5 separate regions of the Homo sapiens genome follow, and regions 1, 2, 3 and 5 are each linked to region 4. Evidence: promoter capture Hi-C in 16 types of primary human blood cells and fetal thymus (Javierre and others, 2016). All regions are on one chromosome and are shown on one strand. The core of a region is centred on a gene start or on the middle of the fragment in contact, and the rest is flanking DNA. Distances in the headings are between cores, read along the strand shown.

Evidence for each region. The method cuts DNA at HindIII sites, captures the fragments that hold promoters and counts their contacts. A CHiCAGO score of 5 or more calls a contact.
Region 1: a contact is called between the fragment with the promoter of ZNF81 here and the fragment with the promoter of EBP in region 4, in 2 of 17 cell types (M0 macrophages and M1 macrophages). The highest score is 6.8, in M0 macrophages.
Region 2: a contact is called between the fragment with the promoter of PRAF2 here and the fragment with the promoter of EBP in region 4, in 2 of 17 cell types (activated CD4 T cells and total CD8 T cells). The highest score is 6.3, in activated CD4 T cells.
Region 3: a contact is called between the fragment with the promoter of SYP-AS1 here and the fragment with the promoter of EBP in region 4, in 4 of 17 cell types (naive CD8 T cells, neutrophils, non-activated CD4 T cells and 1 more). The highest score is 9.6, in naive CD8 T cells.
Region 5: a fragment that was not itself captured here is called in contact with the fragment with the promoter of EBP in region 4 in 2 of 17 cell types (total B cells and total CD4 T cells); the score reaches 6.3 in total B cells.

What each region holds. Positions count from the first base shown.
Region 1 is chrX:47,835,558-47,838,257 of GRCh38, reverse strand. ZNF81 (zinc finger protein 81) reads right to left here and starts at 1,356. Exons shown (of 5, transcript NM_007137.5): 1 at 1,271-1,356. RefSeq lists an enhancer at 1,229-1,608. The HindIII fragment of the contact is 3,931 bases long and covers 1-2,700 here.
Region 2 is chrX:49,072,552-49,075,251 of GRCh38, reverse strand. It overlaps PRAF2 (PRA1 domain family member 2), which reads left to right and starts at 1,250. Exons shown (of 3, transcript NM_007213.3): 1 at 1,250-1,443; 2 at 2,602-2,700. The coding sequence starts at 1,265. It overlaps WDR45 (WD repeat domain 45), which reads left to right. Exons shown (of 11, transcript NM_001029896.2): 10 at 1-116; 11 at 340-810. The coding sequence ends at 449. RefSeq lists a silencer at 968-1,067. The HindIII fragment of the contact is 3,027 bases long and covers 754-2,700 here.
Region 3 is chrX:49,197,540-49,200,239 of GRCh38, reverse strand. SYP-AS1 (SYP antisense RNA 1) reads right to left here and starts at 1,401. Exons shown (of 2, transcript NR_046649.1): 1 at 1,016-1,401. SYP (synaptophysin) reads left to right here and starts at 47. Exons shown (of 7, transcript NM_003179.3): 1 at 47-89; 2 at 1,207-1,272; 3 at 2,401-2,525. The coding sequence starts at 54. RefSeq lists silencers at 1-94, 165-214. The HindIII fragment of the contact is 12,908 bases long and covers 1-2,700 here.
Region 4 is chrX:48,520,558-48,523,257 of GRCh38, reverse strand. It overlaps EBP (EBP cholestenol delta-isomerase), which reads right to left and starts at 1,450. Exons shown (of 5, transcript NM_006579.3): 1 at 1,351-1,450. PORCN (porcupine O-acyltransferase) reads right to left here. Exons shown (of 15, transcript NM_203475.3): 15 at 2,450-2,700. RefSeq lists silencers at 1,166-1,345, 1,406-1,635, 2,550-2,609. The HindIII fragment of the contact is 9,622 bases long and covers 636-2,700 here.
Region 5 is chrX:47,653,546-47,656,245 of GRCh38, reverse strand. All of the region lies in intron 5 of UXT (ubiquitously expressed prefoldin like chaperone), which reads left to right. Among named protein-coding and RNA genes, the nearest start is that of UXT-AS1, 3.9 kb to the left of the region's middle. The HindIII fragment of the contact is 1,824 bases long and covers 401-2,224 here.

The sequences.
Region 1 (2,700 bases), core at 107-2,606, 680 kb after region 4:
TATATGACATGATTGCTCATGCAGAAAATCCAAGGAATCTGCCAAAAAAGGTGTAAAACCTAATAATTGAGCTCAGCAAGATTGCAGGATACAAGACCAACAGACAAAACTCAATTGTATTCCTATATATAAGCAACAATTTAAAAGATAACACCATTTATGACCACTCCAAAACAATTAAATACTTAGGTATAAATTGAATAAGACATGTACAGAACTTGGGTGATGAAAATTAAAATACACCATTTATAGAAATTTTAAAAGATCTAAATAAATAGAGAGACATACTATGTATATGGATTGGAAGACTTGGCACAGTTAAGACTTAACTTCTTCCCGAGTTGGTATACAGGTTTAATGCAATTCCTATCAAAATCCAAGCAAGATGCTTTGTAGATAGAGACAAGATTTTCTAAAATGCATATAGGAAAGGCAAGGGAACCAGAGGCATTAAAACAATTTTGAAAAAGAATAAAGTGAGAGGAATCACTCTATCCAATTCAAGACAGCAAGGTAGTACTGGCAGAGGGATAGACACATAGACAATGAACTGAATAGCAAACCCAGAAAGAGCCCACACACAAGTATGGCCAACTTATTTTTGACAATGGTGAAAGACAAGTCAATGGAGGAAAGATAGTCTTTTCAACAAATGGTGCTTCAGTCTGGACATCCATAAGCAAATTAATGCACCTCGACCTAAGTCTCATACTTTATACAAAAAGTAACTCACAGAGGATCACAGACAGCAGTAAGGAGACACAGACAAATCACCATCACAGTGGAGAATTTCTCTCTCCTCGAAGTAATAGAAGAAGCAGACAAAAAAGGATAGATTTTCTATGACACAATTGACGACTAAATAATTAAATATTATTTTCAAGTTATATATAGAACGTTTCTAAAAATTCACCACGGACTAGGCCATAAGTCTCCTTATATTTCAAGGAATGAGCTTCACGTAGATATTTTTCTAACACAGAAAACTAAGGTTAGAGATCCATTACAGAGATAAACTTTTGCACACTGAAACCCCACTTTTGAATAACTCCCGGGTAAAAGACAAATGAATACAAGTTAACACTCTTAAAAAACATAATGCTCCAAACCCAATGGGGCTTAGAATGAACTTTAAGACCTTAACGGTGATGTTAGAAAAGAGAAAAGCCTGCAAAATGATGAGTGAATCATCCAACTCAAGTTAGATAAACGATTCCATCACTGGCCACACAGAATCGCCCAGCACTCACCCTCCCCGGCCCCCCATCACCTCCACATCCCTGGGCACTGAACGTCGAATCCTCCTGACAACTATCAAACCCCGGCTGAGAACCGGCGAGAACCGCAGCCGCTTCCGGTCACTACCCCTAGCACCGCCCTTTTTCGGGGTTTGGGACTTCACATGAATGAGGGAAGCGGAGGTTCCGCGCGTGCGCAAAACCACCTTTGAAGCTGCTGTTAGCCAGGAGTCAACATGGAGAAGTTACGGAAGTGGGTGCTTTGGGACGTTCGGTACCCCTCGGCGGCGTGGTCAGGTGGGGAACATGGCCGCGCCCACGTCGCGCTTCCCCATGGGATACACCATGTTGGAGGAGTGTCCATCCGTATTGAGGATGAGGACACCTCTGAACTCACAGAGCAGGCTGTGAGTTTAGAGCTGTCTGCTCTAAACTCAGGTGGAGCTGTCCCGCTGGTGGCAGGGAGCACGGGTGGGGACGTTTCTCTGGGCGGGCTAACTGGAGGAGGGGGTCTTTGGACCTGTAGTCTATGGATCTGTGTGATACCGCTCCGAGAAACTGAAGGGCCTCTTGGAAAGAATCAGGGGCGGCCGCGGCTATCTCCTGGCAGATACCACAGGATGAGAAGCGGGGAGATGTCAGGCTGGTTACAGGCTTCTCCTAGGACATACCACAAGGGGAGGAGGAGGAGGAGAAATCATGGTTATGCAAGCCCTCCTAGGATATGCCATGAGGTGGGAAAAAGGGAGAACTCAGAGTGCTGGGTTCCCCTCCTGCTGTGCCTGTGGGGCTTGGATGCGAGGTTTGAATGCTGCAGCAATTTACCTTATCTCCCACTCCATCTACCCCAGCTAAAAAGGGACTACGTAGTACCAATACTAATAATTTTTAATGTGTCCTTAGTCCAATGCAATATGTCAATAAAAATCTTTAGGAAACTTTATTATTTTTATTTCCTCATGAAGTAAAATATATGTGGTCATGGTGCCCTTACTTTGGAAATGTAGCTTTAATACAAGGCTCTGCTTCTACCCTTCAACCAGTTTGCTGCTCCATATCACCTCCAATGTGTAAATTCTGGAGATGCCCCTGCCCTCTGGGAGATGTCACTGGAGCAGAAGGGGAAGAAGTCGTGCAGTCCTTCACCTAAGAATGCCTATTCATCCTTCAAAATCAAGTTCAAATATCTCCTCCTCCAGAGAATCCTGACAGAGCTAGAAGCCTGTGTGCCCTCCTGAAAGCCTTTCTGAATCCTCAGGTGAAAAAAATATTTTGAGAGGACCTGGTGTAGGCTGAAGTGTGGACTTGCTGGGGGCTCTCAATCCAGTCTTATCCCCTCTGGCCCTCGGTTTAACAATCTCGAAGGTTAGAGGTGTCCTAGTCCAATTAGCCTCAAACTAATTTTTAGTCTGACAGATCCAGCAATCAATAAGGGAGACTGCACACCAGGGGCACCATGGGC
Region 2 (2,700 bases), core at 1-2,500, 550 kb before region 4:
GATTGGGCAGTACGTGGACTCTCAGTGGAGCCTGGCGAGCTTCACTGTGCCTGCTGAGTCAGCTTGCATCTGCGCCTTCGGTCGCAATACTTCCAAGAACGTCAACTCTGTCATTGGTGAGTGGGAACAGCCCCTTGGTTGGGGGTACTGCATGGGGCAAAGGCCTGCAGGTTGGACCTGAAAGGATTTTAGGGCCATGTGAGGCTCAGCTTCATCATCAGTAAGGGGGACAGCACTGGGCAAAGGCCTGGAGGCAGACCCTAGGTCCTGAGATGCCTGAGAGGACTGGAGCCTGTGGCTGTGGCAGCCTCTGACCTTTTACCACCCCCCCTCCCCCAGCCATCTGCGTAGATGGGACCTTCCACAAATATGTCTTCACTCCTGATGGAAACTGCAACAGAGAGGCTTTCGACGTGTACCTTGACATCTGTGATGATGATGACTTTTAAGGACCCTGGGGGCTGTGCTAGGGACCTGCAGTGGCAGAACTGCAGAGCTGAGCCTTGGCAGTGGGGCGTGCTTGGAAGCCACCAGCCAGCAAGCATTAATGGGGCTGGTGCCCACTTTCCACTCAGCAGAGCTATGTCTAAATAAAGAGCTCACTTCCCCCCAGCACTTCTTGATGACTGTGTGCCCCAAGGGCCAGGCCAGAGACCCAGGAAGGCAGCGACCCCTTGGGATCCCTAACCTGGAGGAAATTGCCAGGGACCCAGAGGGAGTGCCCTAATCCAACCTGGGGATTTTTTAAAAGCTTCCTAGGAAGAGATGATCTCCGATGTGATGAATACGAATAAAAGGCCCTTAATGGCATTTACGGCTTGACCTCAGGGGCGGGGCATGGAGTTTCCTGGAGAAATGTGACCCTCTTGGGCGCTGACAGGAAGGAGGTGGAATCCAACTCGGATCCTTGTGACAGTCCCTCCTTTCTTATCTGTCTGGCTACTTTGTGCTTGAGCCGCTGGCACCGCCCGGAGCAGCCCCTGCGGCGCCCCGCGCGGGGGTGGATGGCAGTTTTAAGGGTTGGGAGCATCTCGCTTCGTGGCAAAGGCTTGATTTCCCGGCAGCCTTTGCTGCTTTCCTGAGCGGCGTGTTAGTTGCTTTTCCGGTCACGTGCATCGCCGCCCCTGCGCAATCCACCTAGGAGGTTAGGAAAAAGCTGCCCAGCCCAGACTCCATTTCCCGGTGTGCCCCGCGGTGGCGAGGGGCGTAACGGTTGTTGTAGTCCGGCCCCCTCCTGGCTGGTCCAGCCACATTAACCGGCAGGATGTCGGAGGTGCGGCTGCCACCGCTACGCGCCCTGGACGACTTTGTTCTGGGGTCGGCGCGTCTGGCGGCTCCGGATCCATGCGACCCGCAGCGATGGTGCCACCGCGTCATCAACAACCTCCTCTACTACCAAACCAACTACCTTCTCTGCTTCGGCATCGGCCTCGCTCTCGCCGGGTGAGGGAGGGAGGCGCCGGTTGGCCAGGGACGTCTGCAGAGCGTGGGGGTAGACCCACAGGTCTTTGAGGACCAGGACGGGGAACCTGAGGGGGGTGCAAGGCCGGGAAGGGCGAAGTCAGTAGAGATGGACGGCCTGAGGGGCTTGGAAGGGGGGCCTTGAAGGAGGTGGAGCCTAGTTATAAGGAGGGCCTCAGGGAGATGGAGCCTGGCTGATGAGGAGGGCCTGCGGGGGATGGGGGTCTGCAAGGAAGATATGGGGAGGATGGAGACAAGTGTGGGACTGAAGGGGAAAGTGGGCTGGAAGGTGAACCGGAAAAAAAGGAGGGCCCGAAAGGGGGACATGAGAGTACTTGAGGGGCGTAGGGGGGGTGTGATGTGAATGATGGGGCCAGATTGAGGCCGACCCTGGAGTACTTAGGGCAGAGACCGGGAAATAGACGGTAAAGTTGGAGGGTTTGGAAGATGTATTTATTGGGGATCCGGTCTTGGAGGGGAGCCTGGCTATGATTGGAAGGCGCCAGGGGCAGGTACCTGTTGGGGAACTTGGGCCCAGGAGGAGGATCCATGGTTGGAAAGCCTGAGACCAGAGAGGGATGGAGAATCTGGAGGAAGGACTTGAGCAGTGCTGAAAGTTCAGAGTGGGGCTGACGACCTGGAAGAGGTCCTAGCAATGATGGAGGGAGGAATCTATAGGGAAATGGGAGCCTGGAGGGCGGTTCTATAAGGACCCTAGGCCTGGGGAGAGGGGAACGTGTGAAGACAGAAGGCCTGAAAGAGGGATTTGCAGGGGCTGGTGTTAAAGGGGGAGCTTGCGGGCAGGCTGATGAGGGGCCCTACGGGGGCAGAGTCGGAAGGAAAGTCCAGGGAAGTGTTGGGAGCCCGGGGGTGTGGGGAGTGTCTAGCAGGATGGGAGGGCCTGAAGCGGGGACCTGAGGAAGACAGGACAGTGGAATTGACAAGGAGGAAAGGAGGGGTCTACAAGGGTGAGTCGGGAGCCCTGGCAGATGGGCCTGCTGGAGATAGGGCTGGTGGGAGGATGTGCCAGGCTGGAGTGTCCGGAGACGGGAGACCCTGGCTCTTGGGGCCCAGGGTGGGTGGTGGTCCGGAGGCCGTCTCTCCGCCCGGCCGGCTAGCTTGGTTCCCTTGTACCCGCAGGTACGTGCGGCCACTTCATACGCTCCTGAGCGCGCTGGTAGTGGCGGTGGCCCTCGGCGTGCTGGTGTGGGCAGCTGAGACCCGCGCAGCTGTGCGCCG
Region 3 (2,700 bases), core at 152-2,651, 680 kb before region 4:
GCCGCGCCCCGCGCCGCCCTTGCTAGCCGAGCCTCCCGCCCCCTGCATTGCTGATGCTGCTGCTGGCGGACATGGACGTGGTGAATCAGGTACGCGCTCCAGCACCGTGGACAGAGCCCGCCGCCGCCCGGCTGCCTAGGCCGGGTCGCTCAGGCCAGCCGACTCTGGGAGGTGGTGGCCAGGGTCTGGCAGCGGAGACCCGGTCCCCGGCGCTGGGGATGGGGGTCTGCGGCAGGTGAAGGGGAGGAAGGGGGAGGTGGAGAAAAGGAGTGCGCTCTTTGCCGCAGCGAGGGCCGTCCTCACTGCCGCAGCGGGGGCCCCCGGAGCCCCGTTTATTACTGGCGACCGCGAGGGGAGGAATAGGGGCCTGGGGGCTGGAGTGAGGGCAAGGGACAAGGGGAGGGGAGAGTGGAAGGAAGATGGGGGGTGCTGCGGATAAGCTAGGAAATAGAGCGACAGAAGGTGTGGGGGCGGGGATGGGGGAGAGGGCTGGCACCCGCCCCTCCCAAACAGAGACTGTACCCCCATAGGCGACCACCCCTTCCCCCAGAGCACACCTAGGGGACAATCCGGTTTTACTCCTTCCAAAACCCCCAGCCTCCTCACCCCCAACACATAGCGACTGAAGCCGTGTCCCAGCCCTCCCCCACCTTAATCAGTCCAGACCCTCTCCGCCATGTCTCTCGTCTTTGCCACCTCAGAAACTCACCCCCAATCAGTCCCAACCCTTCCCCATCCCCATCACCTCAAATATCTACCGCCACCGCCGTCTAACACACCTTTACCCCTGCAGACCCTTCCCCCACCTGAGCCAAACCGACTCCTGCCCCGTTATGACTCACCTTCACCATCACAACCCCCCCACCCGAATGCACCCCACTCCATCCCCATTCTCTACCCGAACCCCTTCCCCATCCGACTCGCCTTTACGTTTCAAACCTGCTCCCCCTCCTTAACTAGTCCTGACCTCATCCCCATCTCCCTCACCCCCGACTTCCTCTGCCATCTGACTCACCATCTCTTCAGACCTTCCCACCAGTCCTTGGACCCTGGGGCTCACACCATCCCCAAGGTGTCACTTTCTCCTTCTCACCCTCTCCCCGAGGTCACATGCTCCATCCCCTGGGGTCATTGATGGGCAGCCTTGCCGCTCACCTCCCTGTACCTCCAACAACCCCACCCCTTCCCCACTGTTTCTCTCCTCAGCTGGTGGCTGGGGGTCAGTTCCGGGTGGTCAAGGAGCCCCTCGGCTTTGTGAAGGTGCTGCAATGGGTGAGTGTGGTCCGGGCTGTTGGGGCAGAGTGCAGGGAGAGAGGGAGGTCATGGGGTCCAGAAGAGCAGGGGTGGAGTAGGGGCGAGTAGCCAGGGATGAGTGCGGGGGTTGTAGGGGATGGGGGAATTGGGCTCCAGGGTGAGGTTTCAGGGGTCTGAAGCCAGAAAACAGATGAGCTGTGACGTCACATAGGGCTGAGGGTACCCCCGTTGTGAAGTGGGAGACTGTGACGTCCTACCTCCTCTCTTGAAGTGAGGGAGGGGTGGGGGAGGTGGAGCCTGTAGCAGATGCTGGGTGAGAGATGCAAAGTCAGAGAAACCCAGAGACAGTGAAGGTGACAGAGAGAATGAGGGACAGGGAATGATAAAGACAGAGATGGAAATACTGAGAAAAAAAAAAGAAATATGGAGATGAGAAGAGATACAGACATAAGAGAGAAGAGACAAACAGAAACAAAGAAAAAGGAGACACAGAAAACAGATGCAAAGAGAAACAGACGCAGGGAGAGAGGCAGGAAAACAGGGTGAGGGAGAGAGAGACACAGAGAGAAAGAGACACTCAGAAAAAAGAGAAACCAACACACAGAGGCAAGAGGGAGACAGAGAGAGAACCATCCGGAGACCGAGTGAGAGACAGGACAGAGAGACAGAGACAAACAGACCAAGAAACAGAAAGACACAGACATACAGGCATACACTTACACAGACAGAGAAAAAAGAGACAAAAAGAGACATCGACAGATCAGATAGGCAGAGGCAGAGAGGATCAGAGACACAGAGAGACAAAGAGACATCTGAGAAAGACAAAGACACATAGAGAAACAGAGATACCGAGAGAAACAGAGACACAGTGAGATACACAGAGAACAACAGAGACAAACAGAGAAGAGGGAGGTCAGCATGGAAAGGCAGAGACAGAGAGAGACACAGAGAGAGAAACAGGAAGAGACAGCCATACCCTTGTAATCAGCTTGTCCTTGGTCCCGATGAGCCCTGATTAGGGGGTGGGGGTGGGGACTGCTCCATCTGCTGCTGCCTGTGCTGGGCCCCCGATCTGTCCAGAGGAGGGCACCTCCCTCCCACATGCACACAGGTTCACTGTGGCCATCCCCATCCCTGCTGCCCAAGGTCTTCGCCATCTTCGCCTTTGCCACATGCGGCAGCTACAGTGGGGAGCTCCAGCTGAGCGTGGATTGTGCCAACAAGACCGAGAGTGACCTCAGCATCGAGGTCGAGTTCGAGTACCCCTTCAGGTGTGCTCCCACCCTGGGATACCAACAGACCTGGGAGAGGAAGGGGCAGGGTGGAACCGGCCAATACCTCCCCCCGCAAGTAGCTCCTGCCCAGCTCCCACCTCGAGGCTACATCCACTGGGATCACTGAGCACCTGCCTTGTACCTGGCACTGCTCTGGACTCTAGGACTATGT
Region 4 (2,700 bases), core at 201-2,700:
GACCATGACTAAAGGCCAGGCACCGTGGCAGGTAATTCCAGTGCTTTGGGAGGCTGATGCAGGAGCAGCACCTGAGGCCAGGAATTCAAGTCCGGCCTGGGCAACACAGCGAAACTGTCTCTAAAAAAATAAGAAAATCAGTCAGGTGTGGTGACAAAGGCCTGTAGTCCCAGCTAGTAGGTAGGCTGAGGCAGGAGGATCGCTTTGAGCCCAGGACTTCAAGGCTGAAGTGAGCAGTGACCACATCACTGCCCTCCAGTCTGAGACTCTGCCTCTAAAAAAGAAGGCCGGGCGCGGTGGCTCACGCCTGTAATCCCAGCACTTTGGGAGGCCAAGACGAGTGGACCACTTGAGCTCAGGAGTTCAAGACCAGCCCGGCCAACATGGCAAAACCCCGTCTCTACTAAAAATACAAAAATTAGCCAGGTGTGGTGGCGTGCGCCTGTAGTTACAGCTACTCAGGAGGCTGAGGCAGGAGAATCGCTTGAACCTGGGAGGCAGAGGCTGCAGTGAGCCGGGGTCATGCCACTGCACTCCAGCCTGGGCAACAGAGCGAGACTCTGTCTCAAAATAAAATAAAAAAGAAAAGAAAAAGAACATGACTGAAACACAAGGCCACAGAAAGGCTGAAAGCTTGTTCCAGCCCTTTAGAAGCCATATTATGATGTGGTAGAAACAGTCCCGGTCTCAGCCCTCGGGGGTCAAAGTCTGGTGGGAGGCACATGGGAACAACACCTGATCCCAGCCCTCCCTGGTCACAGTCTGGCGAGGGAGATACAGGACCAGGCCTGGTGTCTTCCTTCAAGGGTCACAAACTGCTCACGACCACCAAACCCAGTCCTGTGCTCCGGGGTCACGGTTTGGTAAGAGACACAGGAACCAGGCGTGGTCCAGTTGCACAGGTCAGCGTCTTAAACCGTTCAACAAAAAGCTATTCCCTCCCCCACGTAGTCCTGAAAACTGCAACTGGGGGACAGAGGAAAGAAAACGAATCAGAACTACAACCCTCGGTGCCAGCGTTTGGAAAGCCAGAGCCTCCCCGCGAGAGCGTGCAACGCCGTCAACCTGCAGGGAAGAGACGGATATTGAAAGGCCGGTGTCTGGCGTGCAGCGCTAGAACGGAACACAAAGCCGGTCAATCCGAACCAGAACCCTCCAGTCCCGCTGCCCAATGAGAAGACGGATCTTCTGTCCTCTGGACAACCGTGCGGTAGCTGGGGGTCTCGCGCAGGCGCAAAAGGGCGGTGGGGGGGGCGGGTGGCAAAGGGTCTCGCGCTGGCACGCCGAGGGCTGGCCGCGTAGCCGGGGAGAGCTGGGGGAGGGAGCAGGGGCCGGGTGGAGGGCACTCACCAAGGCGCGCGACGGCAGCGGCCTCCCACGCTGGCTCCGGGCTCTCTTTAGGCTGGGTCTCGCGCTCTGTCACATCCCTAGTTCGGGCTCATCCCCTAGTGGGTTCTCTTGCCTTACGGAGCGAGCCAATGGTGAAGCGAAGAAGGCGGCCCGTGCCGCTCCCAACCAATAGACACTCTCTTTGTACCTCTAGCCCCGCCCCCGCGCGTGGCGCCATTTTCACCTGAGTTAGGTTTGGGGTGGAGACTGGGACGCGCCAAGGTTAGTGGGCGTTTTGGATCCGTAGCCAATCTGCATCGAGTCCTGGCTTCAATTTCCCCATTCCCTTATCAGTCGATCAAAACGGGGACTCATTAAGGTCTGTACCCGCTTCTTCCGCTGGTGAAATTAGCGTTGCGTTGCATCCTTTCACCTCCGCCCTTTTCTAGGTAGAGTAACCCTTAGTATAATGCAACGAAACTGTTACAAGCAGATCACACGCTATACACTGCAACCACCCCCTCCCCAGCTCTTCAGTGCTCAGAACTCCTCAGTCCTAATAGCAGCGGTCATTCTCTCTTCTCCCGACCTCAAGTCAGAAGAACTAGTTAGAACCCAGGCCTCTCAGTCCTACTGACCAATTGGCATGAAGACCCTCAATCTCCATATGCCAGTTCTAAAAAGCCAATCAAACGCCTAACCACCAGTGGGCCCCCAGATGGAGCAATCAATCAGAATCCAGACCCATCCCAGACCTCCCATCCAATTAGAACCCACAACCCTCAGTCCTAAGGATAAATAGGCACCAACCCTTCATCTCTCTTGCTTTCTCTCCTCTGTGTCCCACTCAGAGCAACCAATCAGAATGGGGATCCTTCAGTTTTCCAGCCAATCAGGCCTCCCCCACATCCAACTATGCAATCTGTCCCTGCCCTGATCAAACCAAGCAGGACCAGGATCCTGCCATCTTCAGGCTCATCATCTAATCAATCATAAACTAACCATGAACCAATCACAGTCTGCTCTCTCTTCATGGTTTCCAGCTTCCAAACCTTTATCCATGCTGTGCTCCCTTCCTCACTCATTCCTATTCCCCTCTGAGCAGTGAAGAAGAAGCCTATTGAATATTTCCTACTTTTATTTGACAATAACAAATTGTATATAAAAAGGAAGAAGGAAGGCGGGGAGGCCCTGGATCTCCCCTTCTCTGTTTCCCCAAGCATCCCCCTCTAGGCCCCAGCAGGCACCACCCCCTTCCTGCCTTGTGGTGGGGTGGGGATTGACAGGCATGAAAATGGTGTGATTTTGTGTGTGTGTGTGTGTGTGTGTGTTGAGGTGTTGGGGGTCAAGGATGGAGGGGGTCAAGGAGTA
Region 5 (2,700 bases), core at 63-2,562, 870 kb after region 4:
GCAATCCCCTTGCTTCAGCCTGCCAAGTAACTGGGACTACAGGCGCACTGCTGTACCCGGCTTTGTGTTTGTTGAAATAATTTGAAAGGGTATGCTGGAAGCATATTAAAGTGGTTATTGAAGCAGATCTGTGTTGGGGGTGATGGGGAGAGAAAATGTGGGCTCCAGTTGAGTTTAAGGCAGGAGTGTCCAATCTTTTGGTTTCCGTGGGCCACATTGGGAGATTTGTCTTGGGCCATACATAAAATACACTAATGCTAATGATAGCTGATGAGCTAAAATAAAAAAGTTGCAAAAAAAAATCACATAATGTTTTAAGAAAGTTTATGAATTTGTGTTGGGCTGCATTCAAAGCCGTCCTGGACCGCATGTGGCCCACTGGTTGCAGGTTGGACAAGCTTGATTTACGGTTTTGTGCAGGGAAGGGCAGTTGGGAGCATAGATGAGGGATTTGAAATGTAGCTAGGGAAGGCCTCCCAGAGGAAGGGACATTTGAATCATTTGACTGAGTGACAAAGCCATGGGGCTATCTGGCGAAGAGCATTCCTGGCAAGAGGAATAGTGTGCCTGGTATGCTAGTGAAACTACCAAGAGAGGTGAGCTTGGTTTCAATGGAATGAGCATGGGGGCACTGAGCAATACACTTAGATTAACAACATCTCACAAGTGTGAGTACCATTGATTTAAACTTCTTTGTTGGTTGTGTTTTGTGTTTATGTCTGTTCTACATTCATTTTTTCCAGAGTTGCCTCCCTTAGAGTTTCAGTAATTTTTATCTTTTCAAACCTTTCCAGCCATGGGAAGGACTAGCAGGTGCTAGTGGACCCAAAAGAACCTCAGACCTGCTGAGATTTCTGATTCTTGGTGTTCAGACCAATTAGCAAATAGTTTAATTAAACGGCCTGCTTTCATGGTCAACACAATTCTGAACTGGTGGTCATTTAGACCAAGTCCACTTTGTTTTTGAGACGGAATTTTGCTCTTGTCGCCCAGGCTGGAGTGCAGTGGTGCGATCTTGGCTCACTGCAACCTCTGCCTCCTGGGCTTAAGGGATTCTCCTGCCTCAGCCTCCCAAGTAGCTGGGACTACAGGCACCCACCACCACTCCCGACTAATTTTTGTATTTTTAGTAGAGACAGGGTTTTGCCATGTTGGCCAGGCTGGTCTCAAACTCCGACCTCAGATGATCTGCCCACCTCAGCCTCCCTAAGTGCTGGGATTGCAGGTGTGAGCTACCGCGCCCAGCTAAAGTCTAGTTTGTATAAGAAGGCTTTCCTTGTTATGTCACAGGATTCCTGAGCCTATCAAATAGATTTTAATGTTTTGAGACTCCACGTACTTCCCCAAAATGAAGTATTTAAATTGTCAGTGCCTGCCCCCTTGCCTGGTCTTTTTGATGTACTGACCTGGTCTGTTAGTGTGATGAAAAATATGGTTGAGTCTTACTGCTTTATTGTAATTAGTAGGACTGTCTAGAAGTTTAATTTTTCTAAGAGATGAAGATTTGAGTCTATGTAGCTGGCTGTCCTTTAAAAATATTTGGTTACTTGGGATATACTTTGAACTAACTTTCTGGTCATTTTATGTGATCAAAAGTGTCAGTTCTTCCTGTTCTTAGTATATTTCTTTGTTTGGGAAGTGGAAGGGATGAAATCTCTATATTCTTTCCTGATGACACAGAAAGGAGTACACATCCACATCTCATGAATAGACATGTAATTATAGAAGAAACAGCCTAACGGCCGGGCGCGGTGGCTCACACCTGTAATCCCAGCACTTTGGGAGGCCGAGGTGGGTGGATCACGAGGTCAGGAGTTCAAGACCAGCCTGTCCAAGATAGTGAAACCCCGTCTCTACTAAAAATACAAAAAATTAGCCGGGAACGGTGGCAGGCGCCTGTAATCCCAGCTACTTAGGAGGCTGAGGCAGGAGAATCGCTTGAACTCGGAGGGTGGAGGTTGCAGTGAGCCGAGATCACGCCACTGCACTCCAGCCTGGGCGACACAGTGAGACTCCATCTCAAAAAAAAAAAAAAAAGCATAACCATATGACTATTCACACTGCCTTACATACTAAATCAGTAGTAATTTGCTTCTCACATAGCAAATAAAAATAAATCAGCAGTAATAAACATATCCCTTTTGTGTTACAGCTAGCATTTGGTGAACTCTGTATTTTTCTCCCTTTTAAAGTGTTGAACTCATAGGTTTTCATAAGGTAAGCTTACACCATTAACTAATTTTGTTCTCTTTTTTGATGTTAAAATTGTCCCTTAGGAGCTGATCAGGTTCATTCTTCTGTTCTTTAAGCATTACCCCCAGAATATTCTTGAAAGTATTCTTGCTCTCTGGCAACAACACCCATACTTCATTTATTTCCTGTCCCTAAACATACACTCAGCCAACCTCAGGTTCCTTTTAATGGAGTAGTCACTTATTCATTCAACATACGTTGGGTGCCTCCTCTGTGCCACACACTGTTCTGGTCCCTGGGGATAGAGCAGGAAACAAAAAAAAACAAAATCTGCCCTCATACAGCTGACATTCTAGTCAGGGGAGACAAACAATAAACAAATGAATGATGTAGTATGTCAGATGTTGACAGTGCTATGGAGAAAGCATATCATGGAGATCAGAAGCATTACCTGCAATGGAACAGTCATGATTTTAAGAAGAATGGCTGACTGGATGTGAAGTGTGA